Regions from separate parts of the Homo sapiens genome. Here regions 1 and 2 are each linked to region 3. The links are contacts of gene promoters, found by promoter capture Hi-C in human tissues and cell types (Jung and others, 2019). All regions are on one chromosome and are shown on one strand. Each heading gives the region's core, a stretch centred on a gene start or on the middle of the fragment in contact. The rest is flanking DNA. Distances are from core to core; before and after follow the strand shown. Region 1 holds the start of KIAA1755. Region 2 holds the start of TGM2 (transglutaminase 2). Region 3 overlaps CTNNBL1 (catenin beta like 1).

Region 1 (3,960 bases), core at 982-3,481, 490 kb after region 3:
CCCACAAAAATTACAGCTATGATGGGTTATCATAAAGGAAAGATACATGACATGCTAGAGTAAGAGTCAGGGAAATCAGGGAAGGCTTTCCTGAAGAGGTGACATTTGGGTGAAGATTTACCGGGTAAATAAGAATTCATTAGGTGAAGGTATTCCTCCAAGCAGGAACAGCATGTGCAAAGGCCCTGGGGCAGCAGGGAGCGTGAACCATAAGAGGCTCGCAAGCAAGGCTGGAGTGGCTGGAGCACAGAAGTGAGGCCAGGGAGGTAGGCTGGCAACAACCTTTATTCTTTAAAAAACAGGCAAGGGAAGGAAATCTGCACATTGTTCCCAATCTGGAAAGAGTTGCTCACCCTTTGACAGGGGGCAGACCAGTGCCTGACCCTTGATCTGAGGATCTGGGGTTCAATGAGGGGTTTCTAATGACTAGGTTAGGTGTGAAAGCAGGAGAGGCTTGGCAAACACCAGGTGCACGCTGTGGCCCTGGAGTGACCATGACCGCCGAGTGCAGGCTCAGAATTCAGACTGTCCTAACTTGCACTTTCTGGGTGGGGTGACCTTGGGCAGCTACTTAAGTTCCCAGAGCCTGAGGTCCCCATCTGTTGGAGATAGCCGCAGGTCTAATCTTAGAGTTGGTATGAGTTACTGACTCCTGGATGTAAATCACCTAGCACAGGGCCTTGCCTGTAGGGAGAGGTGAATAACCACTGGCTTATGAGAGTATTTTCAAACAGCTCCAAGAGCCATGTGTGTGTACACCTGTCCCCGCAGTGCATGGATGTAGGTGCCCGGTTTTGCAATATGTCTGTGGTGTGTATGCCAATGTATGCCCATAGTTTAGCAGTATGGGGGAGCAGGTGCAGAAGGCATGGGTGTATGAGAGGGTGTGAACATGTGTTCAGCTGTGTGAGTCAGTGGGAGCATTCAGGTGTGCTCTGTGCGTGCATGTGTATGTGTGTGTGCATGTGTACGTGTGTGTGCATGTGTACGTGTGTGTGAGTGCCTGCGTGTGTGTGTGTGTGTGTGTGAGAGAGAGAGAGAGAGAGTATGAACACCTCTATATGGAATTCTTCTGCTTGTGGAGATGCATTTGCTGTGAGTGAAAACCCACACAAATTCAACATGGTTGGTCACAGTCACAGGGTTAAAGCCTTGGCCTGTCTTCACAGCTTTTTTCAAAATCCTTACAGCCCCTGTGAATCTGCCTGGGGCTCTTGTATCTGTCTGGAGCTGGGCTGAAATCCTCCAAAAACAGACTTTTCTTTCATTCCCTGTTGCCAGATACTGGCACAAACGCATCCCTGCCACCACCACCACCACACACACACACACACACACACACACACACACATTCTCCCAGAATGTCTCAACTTTTTTCAAGGTTCCAGCTCCAAAAGTCCCTTCCTCTTCCCTCTCCCCAGCCAATTCCCATGGAAGCACCCTGGGTTTCAATGTGTATATCTGACTTTCCATAGCTGAGTCTAAAACAGCAAAAGCATCCCAAGTTTTGGTAAGCAGTTCTCTCCTTTTCACCCTGGACCCTTAACCCTCCTCGCCCTGCACTGCCTGGCTGGCCTGGGAGGGGACTTTAACCCCCACCACCACTCTTCCCCATCCAAACTCCCTGCCGGGACAATGTGCATATCACAGTCAGTTCCAAAACAAACATGCAAAACCACCCCGTTTCAGCCCTCAGCCTCAGGGCTGAGATTCAGGCTCAGGTCTAGGGGTTGGGGAATATTAAAGTTTACAAGTACAATCTTACTCCATCCATACACACACATGGAGAAGCCAGGAGAGGACGCGGCCAGAGATGGGCTCCTGCCCTTGAACCCCTGCTGGGGTGGAAGCAGGTAAGCACAACCCTGCCAAGGCACTGAGGGTCGTCTCAGTGTAAAAGGCCAGGGCCACCCGGGGCTGTTCTGCAGGGAATGGGGAGGGCTGTGCCCACTGAAAGGGGGCAGAGCGAGGTGGTCCAGGCCTTGGCGCGTTACCATGGTGACGGGCTGCCAGCGGCGGGCGGCGCGGCTCCTCTCCTGGGCGCGGGGTCTGTGGGTCCGCGGGTCCGTCTGTCTGGGGCAGCCCTCGGTCCCGCCTAGCCCTGGAGCCAGGGGATAGGGCAGGCCCGGGGCACCGACCCCGGCGTCATCTCGGAGGAGCGGCCGGGGAGGACAGGGAGAGAGACTGAGAGAGAGACAGAGAGGGACTGAGGCTGGAGACGGCGAGAGACATAAGGGAGCCGCGGGCGGCGCGGGTCGGGCCACCAGACGGGGGGCGGCAGCAGAGGCGGGGCGGGGCGGGGCGCGGCGGGACAGCGGCCCCTTTGTGCCTGAGCCCTTTGTGCCCAGCCCGCGCGCCCCGCCCCCACCGCCCCCCCTTCCCTCCGTCCACCCCCTCAGCAGCCAGCTGGAACCCGAGGAACCCGAGTCCGCCCCGCCAAGTTTTCCTCCCCGCTCCTCGCTCTTCCCACGGCGCACCCGGCCCGGACAGCCCCATTGTACAGACCCGCAGAGCGAGGCCTCGAGCCGCAGCAGCCGGGTTAAGCGCCCGCGGACCTCGCTGGCAGGCCCAAGTTCGAGTCTCCTCCTCCTACACTTCCCAGGGAGTCACAGACTCTCTTAAGCTTCGATTTCTTCATCTGTAAAATGGGGTGGGAGGAGGATGATGATGATGATGATGATGATGATGATGATGATGATAGTGCCTGCTGCTTAGATTTGGTGATGAGGAGTAAGCATCTGTCCCAGCGCCCTTGAATTCTCCCACATTATGCCCCATCATGACGGCCTAATTCAAGGCTTTGAGGTGATGATGGCTGTGTGCGAGTTCTGTTCTTGACTCTCAGATAATGACCTTGGCCAAGTCGGTATTTCCTACTGAGCCTCAGCTTTGGAGTGAGACTAAGAAACTAGATGACCGCTAGGGTCTATATGTGTGTGTCCCCTCCCAAATTCGTATGTCCAGACCTAATCCTCAGTATGATGGCATTAGGAGGTGGGGCCTTTGGAAAGTGATTGGGTCATGAGAGGACAGAGCCCTCACGAATGGGATTAGTGCCTCTCTCTATATATATATATACACCTACATATATATACCTATATATATACATATATACACCTATATATATACATATATACACCTATATATATACATATATAGGCACTAATATGTATAGGCATATATACACACACATATATATACACACACATATATATACACACATATATACATATATATACACACACACGCACACACATATATATTTGAGATGGAGTCTCACTCTGTTGCCCACCCAAGCTGGAGTGCAGTGGCATGATCTCAGCTCACTGCAACCTCTACCTCCCAGGTTCAAGCAATTTTCCTGCCTCAGCCTCCCGAGCAGCTGGGATTTTAGGCACCCGCCACCACACCTGGCCAATTTTTGTATTTTTAGTAGAGACTGCATTTCGCCATGTTGGCCAGGCTGGTCTCGAACTCCTGACCTCAGGTGATCTGCCCACCTCACCCTCCTAAAGTGCTGGGATTACAGGCGTGAGCCACCATGCCCAGCTTAGTGCCCAAGAGGCCCCAGAGAGCTAGCTGCCTTGCCCCTTCCACCATGGAAGGACACAGCGAGAAGGGGCTGTCTATGAACCAGAAAGGCCCAGAAACATAAGGTCCAGAAAGAAGGCTCTTACCAAACACCCAACTTGCTTGTGCCTTGATCTAGGGCTTCCCAGCCTCCAGAACTGTGAGAAGAGAATTTCTGTTGTGTATAAGCCCCTCAGTCTAAGGTATGTTGTTATAGCAGCCCAGACTAAAACAGTGACCAAAGTTATTCCTGGTTAGATGGCTCAGGGTTTTGTCCATTTATTTATCAAACACTGTGCACTGAGTCAGCCTGTCTCCCCCACTAGACTATACATTACTTGAGAGTCCCGGCCCTCAAGTAATGTACAGTCTAGTGGGGGAGACAGGCAA
Region 2 (4,017 bases), core at 1,518-4,017, 400 kb after region 3:
ATAGATTGCAAGAAAGAAAATGAAAAAAACATTGAAGAGAGAACCTATAAAGAGAAACTTAAACCCGTTGTGATGTATTGATCTATTTGGATCTTGATTTCAAAAAAGTATTTTAAAACATTTATTACATGTATGAGACAACTGGAAATTTAAATACTGATGGCATAATGGTGATATCAAAGAATTTTTGTTAATTTGTTTGTGTTAAAAAAAAGAGAGTCCTTATCCTTTAAAGGCATATACTGAAACATTGACAGATGACATGATGTGATGTCTGAGATGAAGGTGCGCAGGGGCAGGAGACACCACGGTGGTCAGTGCTGGGTGATGAGGACATAGGAATTTATTAAACAATTCTGTCTATTTTTGTGTATGTTCAATATTCTCCAAAACAAAACATTTTTAACATGATAGGTGCTTTGGAGACTTCCAGAGGTAGGTTTTAGTTCTGCTGTGTTGCTGTGTGAGCCTGGATAAGTGTCTCTCCCTCTCTGTGACTCCTCCTCTGAAGTCTCAAGGGGCTGCTGTGAGTCTAGAAGATGTGTTGGGAACCCCCTTCCCCACGGCCCAGCCCAGGACAGAAGCTTGATACGTGAAAGTTCCATTTACAGTTTCAGATGGAGCAGAGGACCAGGGCACGGTCAGGGTGACAGATGGGTGGGGGTCTTGGGGGAAAACAAATCTCATAAACCTTGGCAAGCTCAAGGTCAGGATGGGGAAGCCCTTAAGGTGGGAGGAGTGGGCAAGACAGACTCTGAGTGTGGAGCCACTGGACAGCATGTGGTCCAAGTGAGGCCCAGGGGCAGGAATTTGTTCAAAGTCACGCCGCAAGTTGGTCCTTGCAGTGGGAGAGCCCAGGTCTCCTGCTCACCATCGACTATTCCAAAAATGAGATGCAAAGTGCCTTGTATGTGAATTATCTCGACTTAAATCCCAAAACAACTCCGCTTACATAGATGCTATCATGATTCCCATTTTGTAGACAAAGACACCAGGTGGCTCCAGGTCCCAGAGCAAGTGGCTGCTTTGGGATTGGAATCCAGAGCTGTAGGATTCTGTAGGATTCTGCCCTGGGAACCACCTCACTACAGCTCAGTTTTTTCTCCAGCCCCTCTTATGACCACCCCTTCGCCACCATGTCCTGTGTTGTTCTCAAACCTGGGGGCAGATAGTTCTGCGCCACTGAAGTATCAGGGATGTCGGTCCCCGTGTAATCACAACAGAAGAGACCTCAGTGGCCAGAAGGAAAAACTTCCTGCTGGCCTATTGCGGCGAGGAAATGTTTTTGGAAACTTCAGACCCAGGGAGCTTGAGCAGGAAAGAGGCCATTGTTGTTCCCATGGAAGACCCTGGAGATACGGCCAGTCCCTGGGCTGTGGGAGCTGGGGCATTTTCTCCATCTGTTGTCCGAAGAAGGGTTTCCAGAAATCACGCCCAGCTCCAAAGATGCAGGTCTAGAATTGTAGGATTTATAGGATTTCTGCACTTAGAAAGGGCCTAGGCCTTCTAGGCCAGTGAGACCTCTGTCAGAAGTGGCCACTGTGACATGGGGCTGGAGGCTCATCATAACTGGCATCTCCAGGATCTCCCAGCCCCACTGAGCCCTGCTTTTGAGCATGGGGGTGAGAAGATGCATTGAGGACAAGCGGCCACCGAGGCGACACATCACAGTGTGTTGGGAGCTGGGCCCGAGGGAGGCAGGTGGCTGAGATCACACAGCAGGGTCAGGTGGGTCCACAGTTCCTGCCACCCATTCCTGCTCCACCTGCCCCATGTCCCTGTCCCACACCCCTTCCTGGGGGTTGCAATGGGTGCAGAAGCCATCCCCAGATGAACTTGACCCAAGAGCCAGCTGGGATTCTGGGTCCAGCAGTGACATCCTCCATTGTAGAAATCCCTCCAGCTGGGACCTACGAGAGTGCTGCTTGTGTGTGGGGAGGGAGTCAGGGGCACCAGTATGAAATTAGTTAAGCCTCTGTTCCACTCCTCTCGTTCCTCACAGATGCACCAAAGGCTGGAGCAGAGGACCAGGGCACGGTCAGGGTGACAGATGGGTGGGGGTCTTGGGGGAAAACAAATCTCATAAACCTTGTCCTATAAAATAAGGACACTGTTGTCCTTATTTTATAGGTGAGACTCAACAATTGGCCAAGGTCTAGGGTTGCAGAACGTGAGGGCGGGAAGAACAAGCCTGATTTCCGAAGGCTCCTGGATAGGATGCCGAAAGCTCCTCTCTGGCCGCTGGAGCCAAGGACTCAGCCAGGCTTGGCTTGCACACCACCGGCGTGGCATGCACACCACCTGGTCCTGGCTGGCAAGAACCACCCAAACCTAAGTGTTCTGAGGCCAGGCCAGCACCCCCTGCACAGCTCCAGGCACACATCAGAGAGCCAGCCCCCACTGACTGACTGAGGACACGTGCCAGTGGTCCGCCAGGACAGTACTTTACAGTTTACAACACCCCGTCGCGTTCCATTGCCTCACCTGATCCAGGGAGGCAAGGGTTAATGGTTATGCAGTGTGGATGGGGAAACTGAGGCTCCAAGCAGCATTGAGACGCCTCCTCACCCAGCCCGGTCTGCCTGTTGCTCTCCAAATCAGGACTTAGGGATTCAGCTCCCACCGGGTCCTGACCCCCAATGCCCCGGGGCCCCTGAGTGGCGGCTGCGGTGACTCTGATACTCACCCTCGGCCATGGTCGGGCGGGGGCGGTGGCTCCTTCCACTGGCGGCGAGACCCTCCAAGTGCGACCACTGGCGGCTGGCACTGCCGAGGCGGAGAGCGGCGCTAACTTATAGCCCGCTTTGGGGCGGGCCGGGGGCGGGGCCCCGCGGGAAGGCGGCGACCTGGGAGGCCACCCATTGCCCAGTCCCGGGCCCACGCCGCCAGCGCTGGGGCTCACCCAGGGGACCGGAGCCCGAGGGAGGGACGGCGGCCGGACGAGGGCGCCCCCTGGGGGAGCGGACAGGGACACACAACTAGCCCAGGATACAGACACACCTGGACCCACAGACTCAGACCTTGGAGAACAGACACCTGGACACACACACTCAGATACAGACACACGCAGCACCCTCATAGAAACACACAACGGAACCGGGGTGCACCTGGACACACAGATGTGGACTCTTAGGTCAGATCTGGGATCAAGAACACCTCCCCACCCCCAACACACACACACACACACACACACACACACGCACACACTCACACACATACTCAGATATACATACACAGAGAGCAGACGCAGACACACCAAGACAGGGCTGTGGAGATACACACACAAACACAGATACACTCCCACAGATACACCAAACACGGCTGGCCACGCAGACACAGTGACATGGATACAAATTCAGATTCGAATGGCAGACACACACCAGGACATAGATACAGCCTGACACAGCCAGGTAGCCTTGACCGCGAGCCACACACAGCTGTGGACACAGATGAGCAGGTGTCCAGAGGCACCTGGCACACACACAGACCTCCTAGACACCAATGCCACTGTCAGATGTGGACGCAAAATCAGAGAGGGCACCCACAGACACACAAAGATGTGGCTACTCAGAGGTAGACACACATGCAGGCATGGACTCAGGTACAGACATGCAGACACACCTGCAAAAACAGACACACCCATGTCCCTTCCTGTAGCAAAACCCAGATAATCCTCCGATCTCACCCATCCTTGTATCTGTCTAATCAGCCATCCATCTAATCAGCCATCCATCTACCCATCCATCCACTCACCCATGCATCACCTACCCCCCCACCTATCCATCCACTCATCCCTTCATCCATCCCTCCCTCGGCCTTCTCTTCCCTCCCTCCCTCAATCCATCCATCCACTGAGCTTTCTTGAGGCCCCACTGTGTGCCAGAAAGGAGCAAGACTAACTTTCCAGGGACTCAGCCTAGGACTTCTCGAACCTGGCAACCAGGGGTCCTATCTCTCATCCTGGTATCTCTGGTCTCTTGGTCTCCTGTGCTTCCGGATCCACTGTGAGCCCTGAGC
Region 3 (4,382 bases), core at 460-2,959:
AGATAGGTGAGTCTTGAAAAGAAAGGAAAGACAATGCTGGGTGACAGACGGTATCGTAGGAGTCAGTGAAAAGCACTGTGGGAATGAAGAGGAAGAGCCTCCAAATTGCTGGATAGGAGCAGCTAGCTCCTGTGCATGACTGTGGCTGAATATGAAGACAGGTGCATTTTGACAGGTGGAGGAGTGGGAGAAGGGCCTTCATGAGGGGAGTATCATTTGCAAAGTCATGAATGGGGCTGGGATTTGAGGAAAGACTAGAAATGGCCTGTGACAGTCAGAGGTGGGAGATGGAACTGGAGGAATAAGTTTGTCCAGATAATGGAAGACCTTGTAAACCATGGCAGGAAGCTTGGATTTTGTTCGAGTGAACAATAGGAAGCCATCTAAAATATAAGCAGAAGAATAGGATAAAGTCATGGAAGATTAAAACGAATGAGTTGATTTTTGTAGGAAATGGCAGAAAGTAATTCAGGGTGTCGTAGTGCTCTTCATCTCTCAGGGTTTCCTTGCTCCTCTGCTCCCACAGCTTCGTGCTTCCCCTGCCTGGTCATCCTTTAACTTGCCACTGGGGAGGCTGATGTGGGCAAAGGAGTGAGAAAGAAGACAGGAGGTGTGGTGATTTCTTCAGCCCTTTCTCCTTCAAAATTCACACCCAATGTGTTCTGGGTATTGTGTTTAGGGAACACAGAAGTGTATCTGTTTCATGCTAGTAACATATTCCAGGATACGGATTGGAAGGGGGGCTGAAAGAAATGAAACCATTTGATATTAAGGACTCTAGGTGATTAAAAAAAAAGAGATCTCCTTTTTCGTATCATAGTCATGCAATAACTTTTTTTTCCTCCTAATTTTTAATTTTTCTATTAAGCAACACTTTGGCTGTTGTAGGAGATAGCAGGACCAATTATATTTGCTTCCTAGTACCTGGGAGTTACCTCTGCCAGCATGGCCTTTCCCCTCTGTGCATGTTATTTTGTTCAATTAAAAAGACCATGCTTGCCTGCTTTGCAATATTCTTGCTTCCACCTGATGCAGGGAAATAGAACTGCAAATGGATGAATCAGGAAAGGAAGCGACTCTTGAGTTCACCAGACCCTGAGTTTTCCCTAAGGCTTTTGCCTAGCTCCCAATCTCTTTGGTTATGGGTTTCTGGGACTCATTAGGGACTGGGTGGGACTTCTTAGGTAGATACCCACCCTTTTGTGTGTTCCGCTCTAGTGTTGTTCCCTATTAGCATGGAAAATCTATCACTTAGCTCTTTTGTGAGTTCCATCATTTTCAGTTATGAGTTTTACCTGTAGCATAACTGGAAGAAGAAAACCACAGCAACTCCCTGGTTAATCTGAAAATGACAACCCAGCATCTGGCTGGGAGTAATGCAGGGAAGTGGGGAGAGGAATAACATGCCTGTCATGGGAAGCAAGCTTGTTGCAGATGGAAACAAAGTTGTCCTCCCAAATGACTGGTGTCTGTCTCCCTTCAGCTATTGTGGAAAACATGGCTGAGTTCCGGCCTGAGATGTGTACAGAGGGTGCCCAGCAGGGTCTTCTACAGTGGCTGTTGAAGAGGCTGAAGGTGAGTTTGGCTGTGGGGAACTGCAGCTCACACCTGTCTTTGCTCTGGGCTTGATTGATGCTGGGTTATTGGCATAGACTGTTATGCTGGGCCATATGATCTAGTTTGGGAAGCTTCTGGTACCTCTTGCTTCTTTCTTCTCCGTTTTTGTTCGTTTTAAAACAAGAGGCTTTAAAAATAGTCTTTAGTACCTCTGAAAATACAAACGTTATAAATACAAATTCATGTGATACAAAAGGTATAAAACTGAAAAGATCCCCTCTGCTGATCCCTTGTAGTTCCACTTCTCAGAGGCAGTCACTGTTAACAATATTATATCCATTCTCTCAGAAATTTTCTGTGTATATGAGAGAGTGTGTGTTTCACAAACAGAATTATGTAATATTTTCTTATGCAAGTTGATTTTCTCACTGAACTAATTATTGCCTAGTTAGTATTCCACTATGCTGATGTACCAAAATTAATCTCATCATTCCCACTGGTAAGTTTGTAGTGTTATAAACAGTGCGGCTGTGAATACAGTAGTCCCCTCTTATCTGTGGTTTTGCTTTCTGCGTTTTAGTTACTCACAGTTAACCATGGTCTGAAAACAGGTAAATATAGTACTAAAAGGTATTTTGAGAGAGAGACCACATTCACAAAACTTTTCTTACAGTATGTTGTTATAATAGTTCTATTTTATTATTGTTGTTAATTTCTTACTGTGCCTAATTTAGAAACTTTTTTTTGTTTTTTTGTTTTTTCTTTTGAAACTGAGTCTCACTCACTCTGTTGCCCAGGATGGAGTACAGTGGCATGATCTTGGCTCACTGCAACCTCTGCCTCCCGGGTTAAGGTGATTCTCCTGCCTCAGCTTCCCGAGTAGCTGGGATTACAGGTGTGCGCCACCACGCCTGGCTAATTTTTGTATTTTTAGTAGAGACGGGGTTTCACCATGTTGGCCAGGCTAGTCTCGAACTCCTGATCTCAAGTGATCCACCCGCCTTGGTCTCCCAGAGTGCTGGGATTACAGGCGTGAAACACCGTGCCTGGCCTATAAATTAAACTTTATTATAGGTACATATATAGGAAAAAAACATAGTAAATACAGAATTTATCTGTAGTTTCAGGCATCCACTGGGGGCCTTGGATCCTATCCCCCACAGATAAGGGAGGGACTGCTGTATACAGACTTTTTAAAATATACATTTGTCTCAGTTTATCTGTACGATAAATTCATAGAAGTAGAATTGATAGGCCAAAGGCTATGCACCTTAACATTTTTTGTAGTATTGCAAAATTATTCCCACTGATTTATCATATCCCACTGATAAATCAGCTGCCCCACTGATTTAGAGTTATCTGTTTCCCTCTGCTTCTAGTTAATCTGATAGTGAAAACTGGTATTATTTTAATTTGTAATTTTAACATCAAGTGAAGTGTGTTGGCTTCTTGTTGATTAGCCATTTGTATTCATGTCTTTTAGCTTCATATTTATATTCTTTGTCCATATTTCTATTGAATTGTTCATTCTCTTAGCATAGTCCTTGTGATTGTCTTTTTAACAGTTAGTATTGTCTAATAGAGTAAATGAGAAAAAGAAGAGGCAAGAGCTCCTCTCAGAACAGTTTGGACCAAAGGTGTGATGGGAGGCAGTTTGGAACTGCTTATATGCTATTGAAATGGCCCTCAGGCAGGCAAGGATCCTAACTTTTTGTGAGAAGGAGGCACTTGTTTGTAACTAAAGTAATGCTCTAAGTAATGGCCTTGCTCTGCTTCAGAATGTCACAAGCATCCAGAAAGTCTGGGGTGTATCAGGTCAGATTTGTCCTCCACTGTCTTGGCAGGGCTAAAGGAGAAGGTTCTGCCTAAGATATCATATGCTGCATGGTTTTCTCCGTTTCTGACACTCTAGTCTTCTCCAATCCTACTTATTCAGCCGTTTGTTCCCATTAAATCTGTAACCTTGATTTACATAACATATTGGCCCAAGGATGCTCAGCTAGCCCAGCTGCTACCATCAGTATGAGCACATTTGCCTAGCAGAGGTCAGTAAACTCTAACTCCCTCCAAACCCCATCCCTCTTGCCTTTCAGTCTTGCATCCAGCAAGTAGTTAATTCAGGCATTGTCATTTGCAACTTCCTTTTGACCTCCTCTCTTGAGTCTAAATATCCTTTGGTTTTAGAACTAGACTTGTTTCTCATTTAATTTCCTTTACATCTCTCTAAACTCCGTTTCTTCTTTCCTCAGTATTCAACACATTTTTTATTCTCCAAAGCCTTGAGACATTTTGGGAACAACCAGTGGAGGAGAGGAAAGTAGAGCACCGAGTTTTAAGGGGATGGCGTAGATGTCAGGGACCTGAGTTGTTGGGGGAGTAGCCACACGTTAGGGACGCAACCTTGAAATACACAAAATAATTCAATAGTTTTTTTGTCTCTGTTATGTCGGGACAGATTTTTCCAAGTTACTTGAGACTTAATACTGATTCAGGGATCTTCATTAAACTAGAATGTCTTCTGCCAGAGTCTTTTTTTTTTTTTAATTGGTAACATAGGAAGGGAAATTGACTTTTGAGTGTTTGGCTTGGATGCCGTTACCCTTATGATCATAATGAAGGGGCCCATTTGATAGTTTAGCAAGCTATTGACTCTTGCCACATAGGCACTGCATTGATGTAATCCTCGGGGCACAAATAGCCATGTTGCTGTCTCTGAAACAGTTTTCAGGCTTTTAGGGATATTTAAACATCAAAATGCTATTTGGGTTTTTTACTGGTAAGCAAGTGCTTTTAGAAGAAAACTGTGCTGCCCAGGCTTAATTAAT

The links. The method cuts DNA at HindIII sites, captures the fragments that hold promoters and counts their contacts. A contact is called where the count stands out against the background at its distance.
Region 1: the fragment with the promoter of KIAA1755 here is called in contact with a fragment that was not itself captured in region 3 in 2 of the 25 tissues and cell types used here (H1 embryonic stem cells and heart left ventricle).
Region 2: the fragment with the promoter of TGM2 here is called in contact with a fragment that was not itself captured in region 3 in 1 of the 25 tissues and cell types used here (dorsolateral prefrontal cortex).

The regions. Positions count from the first base shown.
Region 1 is chr20:38,258,504-38,262,463 of GRCh38, forward strand. It overlaps KIAA1755, which reads right to left and starts at 2,232. Exons shown (of 14, transcript NM_001029864.2): 1 at 1,995-2,232. The coding sequence starts at 1,997. It overlaps LOC149684 (a long non-coding RNA gene), which reads left to right and starts at 1,672. Exons shown (of 2, transcript NR_104170.1): 1 at 1,672-1,853. RefSeq lists an enhancer at 1,990-2,489. The HindIII fragment of the contact is 8,345 bases long and covers 1-3,413 here.
Region 2 is chr20:38,162,503-38,166,519 of GRCh38, forward strand. TGM2 (transglutaminase 2) reads right to left here and starts at 2,768. Exons shown (of 13, transcript NM_004613.4): 1 at 2,687-2,768. The coding sequence starts at 2,696. RefSeq lists a silencer at 2,621-3,060. The HindIII fragment of the contact is 7,409 bases long and covers 1-4,017 here.
Region 3 is chr20:37,766,470-37,770,851 of GRCh38, forward strand. CTNNBL1 (catenin beta like 1) reads left to right here. Exons shown (of 16, transcript NM_030877.5): 7 at 1,484-1,575. Among named protein-coding and RNA genes, the nearest start is that of CTNNBL1, 75 kb to the left of the region's middle. The HindIII fragment of the contact is 4,841 bases long and covers 1-4,130 here.